Linked DNA regions of Homo sapiens: region 2 is linked to region 1. The links are contacts of gene promoters, found by promoter capture Hi-C in human tissues and cell types (Jung and others, 2019). All regions are on one chromosome and are shown on one strand. Each heading gives the region's core, a stretch centred on a gene start or on the middle of the fragment in contact. The rest is flanking DNA. Distances are from core to core; before and after follow the strand shown. Region 1 holds the start of CCDC158 (coiled-coil domain containing 158). Region 2 overlaps CCDC158 (coiled-coil domain containing 158).

The links. Contacts are between HindIII fragments. The study calls those that stand out against the background at their distance.
Region 2: a fragment that was not itself captured here is called in contact with the fragment with the promoter of CCDC158 in region 1 in 1 of the 25 tissues and cell types used here (pancreas).

The regions. Positions count from the first base shown.
Region 1 is chr4:76,416,436-76,424,008 of GRCh38, reverse strand. It overlaps CCDC158 (coiled-coil domain containing 158), which reads left to right and starts at 2,868. Exons shown (of 25, transcript NM_001394954.1): 1 at 2,868-3,044. The HindIII fragment of the contact is 21,952 bases long and covers 1-7,573 here.
Region 2 is chr4:76,363,451-76,370,296 of GRCh38, reverse strand. It overlaps CCDC158 (coiled-coil domain containing 158), which reads left to right. Exons shown (of 25, transcript NM_001394954.1): 11 at 674-871; 12 at 2,521-3,003. Among named protein-coding and RNA genes, the nearest start is that of CCDC158, 54 kb to the left of the region's middle. The HindIII fragment of the contact is 4,364 bases long and covers 3,209-6,846 here.

The DNA.
Region 1 (7,573 bases), core at 1,619-4,118:
GCACATGTTTCAGAGAGCACAGGTTTGGGGGTAAGGTCACAGTTCAACAGGATCCCAAGGCAGAAGAATTTTTCTTAGTACAGAACAAAATGAAAAGTCTCCCATGTCTACTTCTTTCCACACAGACACGGCAACCATCCGATTTCTCAATCTTTTCCCCACCTTTCCCCCCTTTCTATTCCACAAAACCACCATTGTCATCATGGCCCGTTCTCAATGAGCTGTTGGGTACACCTCCCAGACGGGGTGGTGGCCAGGCAGAGGGGCTCCTCACTTCCCAGTAGGGGCGGCCGGGCAGAGGCGCCCCTCACCTCCCGGATGGGGTGGCTGGCCGGGCGGGGGGCTGACCCCCCCACCTCCCTCCCGGATGGGGCGGCTGGCCGGGCAGAGGGGCTGACCCCCACCTCCCTCCCGGACGGGGTGGCTGCCGGGCGGAGACGCTCCTCACTTCCCAGACGGGGTGGCTGCCGGGCGGAGGGGCTCCTCACTTCTCAGATGGGGCGGCTGCCAGGCGGAGGGGCTCCTCACTTCTCAGACGGGACAGTTGCCAGGCAGAGGGTCTCCTCACTTCTCAGACGGGGCAGCTGGGCAGAGATGCTCCTCACCTCCCAGACGGGGTCGCGGCCGGGCAGAGGCGCTCCTCACACCGCAGACGGGGCGGCGGGGCAAAGGCGCTCCCCACATCTCAGACGATGAGCGGCCGGGCAGAGACGCTCCTCGCTTCCTAGATGGGATGGCGGCCGGGAAGAGGCACTCCTCACTTTCCAGACTGGGCAGCCAGGCAGAGGGGCTCCTCACATCCCAGAAGATAGGCGGCCAGGCAGAGACGCTCCTCACTTCCCAGACGGGGTGGCGGCCGGGCAGAGGCAGCACTCTCCGCACTTTGGGAGGCCAAGGCAGGCGGCTGGGAGGTGGAGGTTGTAGCGAGCCGAGATCACGCCACTGCACTCCAGCCTGGGCACCATTGAGCACTGAGTGAACCAGACACCGTCTGCAATCCCGGCACCTCCGGAGGCCGAGGCTGGCGGATCACTCGCGGTTAGGAGCTGGAGACCAGCCCGGCCAGCACAGCGAAACCCCGTCTCCACCAGAAAAATACGAAAACCAGTCAGGCGTGGCGGCGCGCGCCTGCAATGGCAGGCACTCCGCAGGCTGAGGCAGGAGAATCAGGCAGGGAGGTTGCAGAGAGCCGACATGGCAGCAGTACAGTCCAGCTTCGGCTGGGCATCAGAGGGAGACCGTGGAAAGAGAGGGAGAGGGAGACCTTGGAGAGGGAAAAGGAGGGGGAGGGGGAGGGGGAGAGGGAGAGGGAGAGGGCCCCAGCTTTATTGTCACAACCTACACATAGCATGTTGTAGGTGCCCTATAAATATGGATGGAATGAATGAATGAATGGAAAAGGACTTTGGATCCCTTTCTTGATCTTTTAATTCTTTATTTAAAAAGCTAAGAAGCTGTTTTTAATACAATATTTAAAAAATGTTGTAAAACCGCAGGACACTTCAAAATGTGATGAATTTTATAGTAAAATCAGGGGCACATAACTTTTCGTACATATATGTGGGTGTAGATAATTTCATGCTACACTAATTAACACACCTTTTAATTAAAGACGTTGAAAAGAAAAAAACCTTTTTGTGTGTGTCCAGGGTACAAGCACAAAATGAGACACCAATGGAAACCATGTATTAGGTATGGAAAATTTTTATGTCATTGAACACTCATGTTTTGATAGAAAAAAGAAAAAATTAGAAATTGCTTTTTGTCCAACCACAAGACCTAAATTATTTACCTTTCTATGTAATACTTATGGTTTCACTTCCTGTTAAAAATGCTCGATTCTATAGCTAATCCTAGATCTCTATAAGCCAATAAATGGATTAACTACAAAGATATGATAAACAATCTTTAATGGCATTTAATCTATTTTTATTAAAATTTGTAGCTACATTATTTAATGTAAGACTTACTAATATTTCTAATCAACTTATACATAAAAAGTTATTTGCTGTAGGTGTCTGCACAATGTGATTGCTAGCAGAATTAAATGCCTCAGGCTGCATCTATCAGACACTGGCCTTTCTGGATGCGTTCCATTTGATCGATAATTTGGGCAGCAAAATCTGATAAATTCTATATTAGAGATAATGACAGAGGGTAACTGTAGCACAGCGGAGGGAACAAGTCTCCAGAGGCAGAAGGGTCAGCTATGCCGAGAACACGTTTGAACTTGAACATTCGGGGACAGAGAAAACAGAGCTGCAAAATGTGAATTCTGTTAACTTGAAATGGTCAAATGGGAATGCCAGGAGTGGGAATGGGAGGGGGGGGTGAGGTGGGGCCGGGTGGGGGTGTCAGAGTAGGAGGCCCGGCGGGCAACTCCAGATTGGGCTTGACTCTTTGGCAGGTAAGAGCTCAGACTGGTGCGGGTCAGTGAGTTATCTGGGAAGACCACGGTGGGGACAGCTACGAGAGTGGCCCGAGGCGCTCGGGTGGGGGCAAGAGTAGGGCCGGAGACCAGTTAGGAGGCTGTGGGAGAAGCGGCAGAGGGCGCCGGGTGCAGGTCCGAACCCAGGGTAGTTTCTGGGGCAGGGCTCCAGGATTTGACTCCGGGCTGGGTACACCCCCACTCCTTAGGGCGCCCGGGCGGTGGTGGGGACTTCGACGCTCGGATGCCCCAGCGACGGCGTCCGGCGGGCGGAGTCGCAGGCGCGGGAGGGGTCCCCGCCGGGCAGCTGCCGAGCACCCCCCTCCTCCCCTCCCCCAACTACGAAGCCTCGCAGAGCGTCCTAACCGTCACCCACGCGGCTCGCGCGGACTGGGCAGCGCCCCGAGCGCCACAGCCGCGAGGAGTGACGGGCGCGGGCAGCTTCCGGCGCCGCAGCCGAGGAGGAGGAGCCGCCCCGCAGCCTCCGCGGGGCCTAGGGGCGAAGAGTGGGGAGCCGCCCCGTCCCAGCCGCCAGGTCGACGTAGGTGGGGCCGCTGCGCCCGCCGGCGCCCCGCGGAGATGTGGCCGGTGTCTTAGGATTAGGTGTTGGTTGCAGGTACAAGCGGGGCGCGGCCCGGGAGACGAGGATGGTGGGGTGGGAGTGGGGTTCTTCTGAGGACCCGGAGCGACTCGTGTTCATTTCTGGAATCTTCCGGTGCCTCGTGTTTGTTCTGCACATGGAAGATGCCCAATAAATTGTTTCTTTACTGGAATGAGCTGCTGTTGTTTTAGGGGATTGCAAGACCCCTGGGGACGGTGGCGCTGAAACCTGGACCTTGAAGAACACAGGGGCCTGCGCAAACTGATTTGATTTGTGGGGAAGAGAATCACCGAGTAACCTGCCCCAACGTGACTGCTGACTCTGTGTCTACCGCGCTGCCGCGAACAGGGGGAGGAGATGGGGAAGACTTGGTGGTAGAGAGGACAGCCTCGCATCCAAGACGGAATGGTGTTAAATGCCGGCGCAAGGGCCCTTTCAGCTTGAGCCCTGTCTTTAAACCACATGTGGGGGTCAGAGCTTTCCCTCATTATCAGCATCAATCAGCAACACAATGAGTTCTGGAAAGTCTCCATCCTTTTCCACAGCACTCTGCTCCAGGCCCCACTCAGGCTGCTCCAGGTTTTGTTTGTGCCTCATGCTGAACTCCAACGTCAGGGGAAAGTAGAAGTGAGGTCGGCTGTTGCCCAGGTTTTTTGACTGGCAACCAGTTCTTGCTGCTTCTCTCAGCAGGAGATTAAGGCGTTGTGGCCGGGTATGGCGGGGGCGTGTGGGGAAAGGACCAGGGCTTCCACATATCCCAGAGACATGCTAGGTAGGACTGTTTCTCTGTGCGGAAGCTCATCAGGTAAGGGTGCAGGAGTGCTGAGAGAGATGTGGTCCTCCTATCTCTGTACTGCGCTCATTGCTTTTAATCTTAGTGCGGTTATCTTACTTGTGTTGTGGGTGAAATGGTTTCCATGCCATAGAGTTAATATTATACTCCCAAAACAAATTGAGGACAGCAATTTATTTGTATGTATGCAAAGCCCTTACTGTTGTTGTGCATTTACAATGAGGACTTAGTTTTATCTAGTATGTTATGAGTGAGCCACTTTAGACCTCCACCATTTATTAAACAGGGCCTCTTGTGATCCACCCGTCCCCCAGCTAGATGGCCCCAAATTATATGGTAGGCTGAGCAGTGGCCACTCAAATATGTCAGGTCCTAATCCCTGAAACCTGTAAATGTTACCTTATAAGGGAAAAGTGCCTTTGCATACGTGATTAAGTAGCTTGAAATGGAGAGATTATCGTGAATTATCTAGGTGGGTCCTAAATGCAAACGCAAAGGTCCTAAGAGAGAGAGAGAAGCAGATTTGATATAGGCCGAAGAGAAGGCAATGTGACCACAGAGGCAGATATTGGAGTGATGTGGCCACAAGTCACCAAATGCCTGGCAACCAGCAGAGCTAGAAGAGGCAAGGAACTGATTCTCTTGCAGAGCCTCCAGAGGGAGGGAGGGAGCCCTGCCAACACCATGCTTTCTTCCCCATGAGACTGATTTTGGATTCCTGGCCTCCAGAATTATGAAAGAATAAGTTGCTATTGTTTTAAGCTACCGAGTTTTGATAATTTGTTATGGAAACTGTAGGGAACTAATACATATGAGCGTGCTCATAAATCACATACATGCTGTACTGATGAATAGTTTACAGGTCTTCAGCTGGGGCAATAGTGGGGTACAGTAGTGGAGATCACTGTATATTTATCTGAATCCTGTAAATCCTAAAGAAAGGATTTGAATAGGGAATTTGGTAAGAAAAGAAATTTAAGTGGTGCATATGAAGGAGGTAGTCTGGCATTTAAAGCAATTTTTTAAGAGTATTCCTATTAATATATCACTATTTGCTCTGGCTAAAAAGAATAAAGGTAAAAAGTGGCAAAGGCTTTGTCCTTACCTTAGCTGAATCATTATTGATTATCCATTGTGTGTATATCAAGTAAGAGTTGCAGACACCTGGGGATTGAGGTCCAGGCCTGGGGAAAAGAGGGAATGCAGAAGTGCTTCCATGTATTAAAATATGGCTAAAAGCAACCGCTAGTCATCTGGAATTAAGATACTTTGGAGTTTTCAGGATACAGGAAAATTCAGTGTTCAAGTTTAATGATTCACTTCTGGGACCCAGGCAGCTAATTTACACTTCCCACTTTCCTTGATATGGTTTGGCTGTATCCCCACCCAAATCTCATCTTGGATTGTAGCTCCCACAATTCCCGTGTGTTGCGGGAGGGACCCAGTGGAAGGTAATTGAATCATGGGGGCAGGTCTTTCCTGTGCTGTTCTCGTGATAGTGAATAAGCCTCACAAGATCTGATGGTTTTATAAAGGGGAGCTCCCCCTGCACAAGCTCTCTCTTGCCTGCCGCCACATAAGACTTCCCTTGCTCTTCCTCCATGATCGTGAGGCCTCCCCAGCCATGTGAAACTGTGAGTCCATTAAACCTCTTTTTTCTTTATAAATTACCCAGTCTTGGGAATGTCTTTATCAGCAGCATGAAAACAGACTAATACACTCCCCACATCTGCTTTCTTTTCAAACTGCTTTATAAGGTATAATTTACATACCATAAAATTCACCTGTTTTAAGTGGACAGTCCAGTGATTTTTAATAAACTTACTGAATTGTACAATCAGCACACAATTCAGTTTTAGAACATTTTCATCATCCAAAAATGATGCCTTGTACCCTTCTGTAGTCAATCCCCATTCCCAACCCCAGCACCATCTGCTTTTAATGACTGGCCTACTTCAGAGTTGGGTTTTAGTCCCTTTGTTGGACTGCTCCAATGGCTTTATAGCTAGCCCCAGCTTCTCCTAGTGTATTCTCTACTCAGCCGCTGGAGGATCATATGCCCTTGATTAAAATCCTCCAGTGCTTTGCGTTGCGTTTAGAATAAGCCCCAAAGTCTTCAGTATGTGGCCTTTTCAAGGCCCCATGAGCTTTACCTCCGCCAACCTCACTGACATCTTCTCAGGATAGTGTAGGAAAGGAAGTGATAAGCACAGTGTTCCTTTTGGCATGACACATAGTTGGCCTCCATTAGAAGCCCTCTCATCCCCACTTAGCTACCCTGCAGCCTCATTAGCCTTCTTCACTGGGAGTCAGTGAACACTGAGCTCTTCTCATTTTTGGGCCTTTGTGATGGCATTTCTTTTAAGAAGTTATCCCTGGCCACTGTGAGGCTGACCCCTTTCTGTCATTCAGTTCAATGCCACCTCCTTAGGAAGGCCTTCCCTCACCTACCCTAACTAGAGGAGCTGTGTTAGTCTGTTTTCATGCTGCTAAGACATACCCGAGAGTGGGAAGAAAAAGAGGTTTAATTGGACTTACAGTTCCACATGGCTGGGAAGGCCTCAGAATCATGGTGGGAGGCAAAAGGCACTTCTTACATGGCGGCAGCAAGAGAAAATTACCTCCCCCTGGGTCGCTCCCATGACACATGGGAATTCTGGGATATACAGTTCAAGTTGAGATTTGGGTGGGGACACAGGCAAACCATATCATTCCACCTGTGGCCCCTCCAAATCTCATGTCCTTACATTTCAAAACCAATCATGCCTTACCAGTAGTCCCCCAAAGTCTTAACTCATTTCAGCATTAATGCAAAAGTCTTCAGTCCAAAGTCTCATCTGAGACGAGCCAAGTCCCTTCTGGCTATGAGCCTGTAAAATCAAAAACAAGCTAGTTACTTCCTAGATACAATGAGGGTACAGGTATTGGGTACATATAGCCATTCTAAATAGGAGAAATTGGCCAAAACAAAGGAGTTACAGGGCCCATGCAAATCCAAAATCCAGCAGGGCAGTCAAATTTTAAAGCTACAAAATGATCTCCTTTGACTCCATGTCTCACATCAAGGTCACGCTGATGCGAGAGATGGGTTCCCATGGTCTTGGGCAGCTCCAACCCCTGTGGCTTTGCAGGGTACAGCCTCTCTCCCAGATGCTTTCATGGGCTGGTGTTGAGTGTCTGCAGCTTTTCAGGTGCACAGTGCAAGGTGTTGGTGGATCTACCATTCTGGGGTCTGGAGGATGGTGGCCCTCTTCTTAACAACTCCATTAGGCAGTGCCCAGTAGGGACTCTGTGTGGGGGTTCCAACCCCACATTTCCCTTCAGCACTGAGCTAGCAGAGGTTCTCCATAACGGTCCCATCCCTACAGCAAACTTTTGCCTGGGCATCCAGGCGTTTCCATACATCTGACATCTAGGCAGAGGTTCCCAAACCTCAATTCTTGAGGCCTGTGCACCTTCAGGCTTAACACCACATGGAAGCTGCCAAGGCTTGGAGTTTCCAGTCTCTGAAGCCACAGCCTGAGCTGCACATTGGCCCCTTTCAGCCATGACTGGAGCAGCTGGGACACAGGGCACGAAGTCCCTAGGCTGCACACAGCACAGGGACCCTGGGCTCAGCCCACAAAACCACTTTTTTCTCCTGGGCCTCTGGGCCTGTGTTGGGGTGGGCTGCCATGAAGGTCTCTGACATGGCCTGGAGACATTTTCCCATGGTCTTGGGGATTAACATTAGACTCTGTAGAGTCCAGCC
Region 2 (6,846 bases), core at 4,141-6,640, 56 kb after region 1:
GCATTTTGATCCCTTTAGTGAGATTCTGTCTGCTATTCCTTATCTTTGTTCCTTTAATGAAAAACCACTTCCAGTTACTTATGTCTATGTCTTAACTTTCTCTTGGATCCTAAGTCATTTGAGTGTAGATATATCTTTGTTTTTACTAGTCTGACTAGAGTTTTTGCTCCTATTCAACACTATGTATTTTTTAAGTGACTGAAAAGGGAGGTAATTCTATTCACAGCCCAGATGCTACTCCAATTCCAGTACCAGCCACTATTCTGCCATCTCTCCATTACTTATCATTTTTCCTTTACTTATCATTTTTCCTTCATGCTTTTGAGCATTTCTTTATTATAGGAGCATACCTGATGTGAGACATAATGTCTTTCTTAGAAAATGCAAGACTTAAAAACAGGATGACTTTTAAAATCTACTGTATTTTCCTTTTCATTGTATATTATTTGAGGTCTAGTCCCTCGAGATAGACTAGTAATGCTAGAAATTTTAAGCAAAATGTTAACTTATTTTTCTTGGAAATAATTGCTCTTAAGCCATTAAAAAGGAATCAGATTCCAAAATCAAAGGTGTCTGAAATCACATAAAAACTCCAAATATGATATAAAGACAATATGTTTTATCTTAATTATTTAATAGCAGGGAGGAAAAAAGCATTCCTCTCTTTTTTTAGGCTGATCTACACAAAAGGGAGAAGGAGCTGAGTCTGGAGAAGGAGCAGAATAAGCGTCTGTGGGACCGAGACACAGGCAACAGCATCACCATTGACCACCTGCGGCGGGAACTGGACAACCGGAACATGGAGGTGCAGCGCCTGGAAGCCCTGCTCAAGGCCTTGAAGAGCGAGTGTCAGGGCCAGATGGAGCGGCAGGTCAGTGCCTGCACAGGCTGTGCCATCGCCAAACAATCTCCTCTGGGGAAATAAATATTTTATGTCTAAATAGAGCTTTTTATTTTTAACATATATGGACCTAAAATGGCTCCTAAAATAAAGCTATGGATTCTGTGAGCAATTTATGAAAACCTGATACTTATTTTTCATTTTATTTCATTTTTTGTTTATTTATTTATTTATTTATTTTTAGATGGCGTCTTCCTCTGTCACCCAGGCTGGAGTGCAGTGGCGCGATCTCGGCTCACTGCAACCTCCACCTCCCGGATTCAAGCAATTCTCCTACCTCAGCCTCCCAAGTAGCTGGGATTACAGGCGTGTGCCACCATGCCCAGCTAATTTTTTGTAGTTTTAGTAGAGATGGGGTTTCACCATGTTAGCCAGGATGGTCTCGATCTCATGACCTCATGATCTGCCCACCTCAGCCTCCCAAGGTGCTGAGATTACAGGCGTGAGCCACTGCGCCCGGCCTATATATAGACACTAATTAAACTAAATGTGTCAAGCTTTATCTCACTTGTACATTGTTGAAGAACTAAACTCTTATCCCATTGCCTTTTCACGTTTACCTAAAAATTGGTAACCTAATAATTGCTTATTTCTGCTGCAGAGAAGCATCAAATTATTGGGCAGCCTGAGAAGCAACAGGGTTGAAGGTTTCTAACAGATTTTTTTGCTTTATTTTTCTCCCAAAAGAGACTTGCCTCTCTTTCCCCAAGTCTCATCACTGATTGAGACTGATGAGTGCATTCCATTCCGGTGCACCCTCCAGTAGCAAAACGTGGACTGCCTTCTTAATAGCAGTGTACTTTCTGTGCTAGGAAGACATGGTTCTAATGCCAGTTACTGCCACAGGGACATAAAAAGCATCCCACAAAAGTGTAAGCTTCTCAGAATGTGAAAGCAAACCAAGGGACTGGTCTTGGCTTAGACCCAGGCAAAGCCATTAACCTACTCTCTGGCTTAACCTGGGCAAGAAGAAAGATGAAAGGACCAACTGGAAGTTAGAATTTTCAGCTTTTCCAAACAAGGATCAGAGAATATGAATGTGTGTGTGGATAAAAGCCATTATTCATTTTTTTCCTCAGAGGTAGAATTAAAGGTAAAGTTGGAGGGAAATTAAAAATAAGGGGTAGTTATTGTAAATTCCGCCACCCTTCCCCCCATTGCCAGGGTTATCTTAATCTAAATCAGTACAGAAAACATCCACAGAGGAAACTTCCCAAGACTGCACTCTAGAACACCGTTGTGGAGGAGCGTTATTATTTAATTAAGCCCTCTCCACCTTGGTCTAATTAGCATATGTCAGTCTTACATATGTTATAAGAGCTAGAGTTCTGACAGCAAAATGATTGAGTTAATTTAACTAGACATGGCTGGGTACAGTGGCTCATCCCTGAAATCCCAGCACTTTGGGAGGCCGAAGCAGGAGATCATTTGAGGCTGGGAATTTGAGAAGACCAACCTAGGGAACACAGTGAGACCCCCATCTCTTAAAAAAAAAAAAAAAGATCTTACTAAACATTGCCTAATTCATGATTTCATGCTTTTAAGTTAACTTGTATCTCTTGAGGTTGCCTATACCTATCCTCCCAAATCTATGAAATTCTCTTTTCTTTAACAATCAGATGGCAGCAATTCAAGGAAAGAATGAAAGTCTAGAAAAAGTATCCTCCTTGACTGCTCAGCTTGAATCCACCAAAGAGATGCTGCGCAAAGTAGTAGAAGAGTTGACAGCCAAGAAAATGACTCTGGAGAGCTCAGAGAGGACAATATCGGACCTGACAACTTCTCTCCAGGAAAAAGAGAGAGCCATCGAGGCTACCAATGCAGAGATCACAAAGCTCCGCTCCCGGGTGGACTTGAAATTGCAGGAGCTGCAACACTTGAAAAATGAAGGGGATCATCTCAGAAATGTGCAGACAGAATGTGAGGCCCTCAAACTGCAGATGACAGAGAAGGACAAGGTGATCGAGATTCTGCGACAGCAGATTGAGAACATGACACAGCTGGTGGGCCAGCATGGACGAACTGCTGGAGCTATGCAAGTAGAAAAAGCTCAACTGGAGAAAGAAATTAATGATAGGCGGATGGAACTAAAGGAACTTAAGGTCTGTAGAGTTTTTTTGTGATTTAACTTCTGAAATATCATTTATTAGCAGGTATGACCTGTACTGAAAAGTGGTTCTTGGTATCTGTGGACACTCTGAAACTGTTGGAAGGTGTTTGTTTCTATGTGTATATGTGTGTTTTTGTGAGAAAGGATAAATACTTTTATCAGATTATAGAAGGAATGGATGACTCGAAAATGGCTCAAAATCACGGGTACAAAAGAAAAAAGATCAGAAAATCTATGAAGTCTTTCCTGATACCACAGGAAAGTATTTTCTCCCTCTTCAGACAGACCTAAATTTGAACCCCGTCTCTCACTACTTAGTTACAGTGAAACATTGGACTGTTTGCTGAATCTTGGCTTCGATATCTGATAAACAAAACCAAACCAAAAAGTAAACAAAACAAAAAACTCCCAACAACCTGTTGGGTTACTGTGAGGCTTAAATCAGAAAGTATATATCAAGGAATGAGCCTATTAATAGTTTCTGGCTATTTAATAATTTAAAATTTAAATAACTTAATAATTTAAAATTTAATAAATATTAGTTTCTTTCCCCTGTTTTGGTCTCCTTCTGAACTTTCTCATACTTTATTTGTACCTGTTAAAACCTGGTTCACATTCTATATTGCCGTGTGTGTGTGTGTGTGTGTTTGTGTGTGTGTTTATGTAGCAGTGTCTCCTTTTCCCTACAAGATTGTAGACTTCTTCAACCAGGGTACACATCTTATTAGCCTTTGTACCTCCTGCCCCATATTTTTGTGCCTTGCACCCAGAAGGTGCTCGATAAATACTTATCAAAATTTAACACAATTTAATGGGTTTTTTAAAAAAATTGATTTCATAGGATTAATGTCACCTTTATCTCTGACTTGGTGAGTAGTAGGAGACAAATCACATATACTGTAGATGCTTCAGTTTCCTCCTTCTAAAAATAGGGCCAGCAATAGATAATTATCCATCTTATGGAAATAAACAAGTTCATTGCATTAAAAATAGAATTTTCTATTGCTTAAGTTTTTACCTGATTATATACATTTTTAAATGGCCAAACTCACCATGAAAAGGGACATAGAAAGGATTCTCAATGGCCAGCCCTACAATGAAACCCTTAGAACAGGTGTGATGCAGGGCAGAGCATATCAGAGGAGAAAGGATGGTTGTTCTACCTTGCTTAGGAAGATCACTAGTGGATTGCTAGTGTGTTAAGGTTCTAAACAGGAGAATCCCACTCTTATACTCTAAAACTTAAATCAATTTAATCCTCACAAAACCTTATGAGGGAGGCACTATTATTATCCCATTTTACAGCTGAGGAAACTGAGACACAGAGAGTTTAACTTTCTGGAGAGCAGCACTACCTTGTGGTTTGAACCTAGGCAGCCTAAGTAGATGTTACTGTGCAGTGGTTCTCAGTGAGAACCGGAATCGCCTGGAGGGCTTTTTAAAGCATGGACTGCTGGCCTGCTCCCAGAGTTTCTGACTCAGTAGGTCTAGGATGGGGTGTGAGATTTGGTGTTTCTGAACAAGTTGCCAGATGACGTGGATACTGCTGGTCCTGAGAGCATCCATCAGGATCTGTGTTAGTGCCTCAAAGGAATGTGGAGCTCCTGACTAGAGGGCCAGTGAAAGCTTCAGAGAGAGCTGGGAACCTGAAATGGGCAAAAACTAGGCAAAGAGAAGGAAGGATGGCATTCCAAGCCCGGGAAGAAGCCTAGTCTGTAATTTAGCCTAGAGATGGTGTGGGAGACATTAAAGGTTTAGGGGTAGGAAGGAGGGGGTAACATGAAGAAGACAGTGTTGGAAGTGGATTAATCTGGCATCAGTATGCAGAAGTGGCTTGGAGAGAGTAAAACTAATTTTCAGTTCCTAAATATGGAGCTGGAGCAGCTTCAGGGAATAATTTCCTAGGTAATTAGAGTTTCACACAGACACAAAGAACATAAGTTTAAAACTCAAGTCCTAATGCCACATCCACTTCCCTCTGTGATCTGATAAGAAAAAAAGGTGGGGGAATCATAGCTGTAGAAGGTATGGTTTCTCTCCTGGTTTCTGTCCCCTCTTCAGAGTGGGTACTGCACACATTGACAGCAGAGAAGCAGAGTGACTTTTATTTCAATAACTGTGGGTCCCCAGAGCTAGACCTTTCTTAAAAACAAATAAATAATAAGACTAAGAAAGGACTGAATTCTATCAGCTGGCCTCAAGAGGTGGAACAGGAGCAGCACTCGTCCTATGTGTGTTGTGATGCCTCAGGTTGTCCCAGGGAAAGCCCTCCCCGTCCCTTACTGCATGAGGTCAGCTGGATTTAGTGTGACAGTTGCCAGGAGTGGCTAGGCAGAGATCAGATAGCCCAGATTAGGGCCTTTACTGCCCAAACCCATCACAGGCGGGCAGTGAGACAAGCCTGGGGCTCCCCACCAATCCTTTTTGAACAGCCAAAAGCTTGTCATGTGGCTATATTTCAGATGTATCATTGGTCTCCACAGTTAAACTGCTGCTATAGCAGTCAAATTGCATCTGCCAGGATACTAAGGCCAGTAGGGCGATAATTTGGGGAAACAATCTGATGACCAAAGAAAGTCAATATTTTTTTCAAATGTCACTTATTCGGAAGGATCTAGGTCAGTTCTGTCCACCAGAAATACAGTGTAAGTGACATATATAATTTTAAGTTTTCTAGTAGACACATAAAAGAAATGTGAAATTAATTTTAATAACATTTTATTTAACTCATATTCAAAATATAGTGTTTTTAATATTATAATCAATACAACAGATCACCAAGATATTTTATATTCTATTTTTATACAAAGTCTTTGAAATCTGGTGTATATTTCACACTTACAGCACATAACTTAGTTTGGCCACATTCCAGGTGCTCCAGAGTCATGTGCAGGTATTGTGTTAGACGACACAGACCTACACCCTGGGAAGAGAGGGGTCCTCCTAGGAAGCCTTACCAACACAGATAGAGACCAGTTAGGAGGCACTGTGGCAATCCATATGCAAAGTGATGGCAGTCCAGACCTGCAGGTTGGGCAGGATTTGATCAACAATTGGGTATGAGGGGCGAGGGACAGGGAAAGACATGGTGACTTTGTGAGTTCAAACTTAGACTGGCAACATGGTAGTGCCTCTAACAGAGAAGAGTCAGAAAGGATTGTAGGGGAAGGCCCTCTGTGAAGAAGGAATAGGAATGTTTGAGTCAGAGTTTGCAGAAGCATGCCATGCTGGGGGTTTCTGACAGTTAGTTGGAAACGCCGAATTAGAGTTGCCATATTCACATTCCCTACCCTAGTCAAAGGACCAGATACTTTCACCACCACAAACCACCCCAGTCTAAGCTCCCACCTCTCTTGTTTGCTCTTCCAGTTGCCTTCTCACTGGTCTCCATGCTTCTCCCCCTACCCCCACGCCAACCACTGTTTTCCTTCATACCAGAGCCAGAGTTGTATTTTTAAATTGTTACACTACATCACTCTCATACTCAAAACTGTCCAATGACTTCCTGACTCACTCACAATGCATGCTCAAGTTCTTACATTGCCTCTGAGCAACCTGATCATTCCCTTGGCCCCTCTCTGACTTCATCTCCTGCTTACCCCAAGCTCACTTCACTCCAGCCCTACTGATGTCCCTGCTCTTCCCCAGACACGTTACCTGTACACAGAGCTCTTCCCAGACTGTCCACGTGTCTTGTCCTTATGCTCAGGAGCACAAGGAGCATCTGCTTAGATGTTACATCATCAGAGAGGCCTTTCCTTGCCAACTGTGGCAGGGTCCCCAAGACCGACCCCAGGTTTGATGATTCCCTAGGAGGACTCGCCAGACTCAGCAT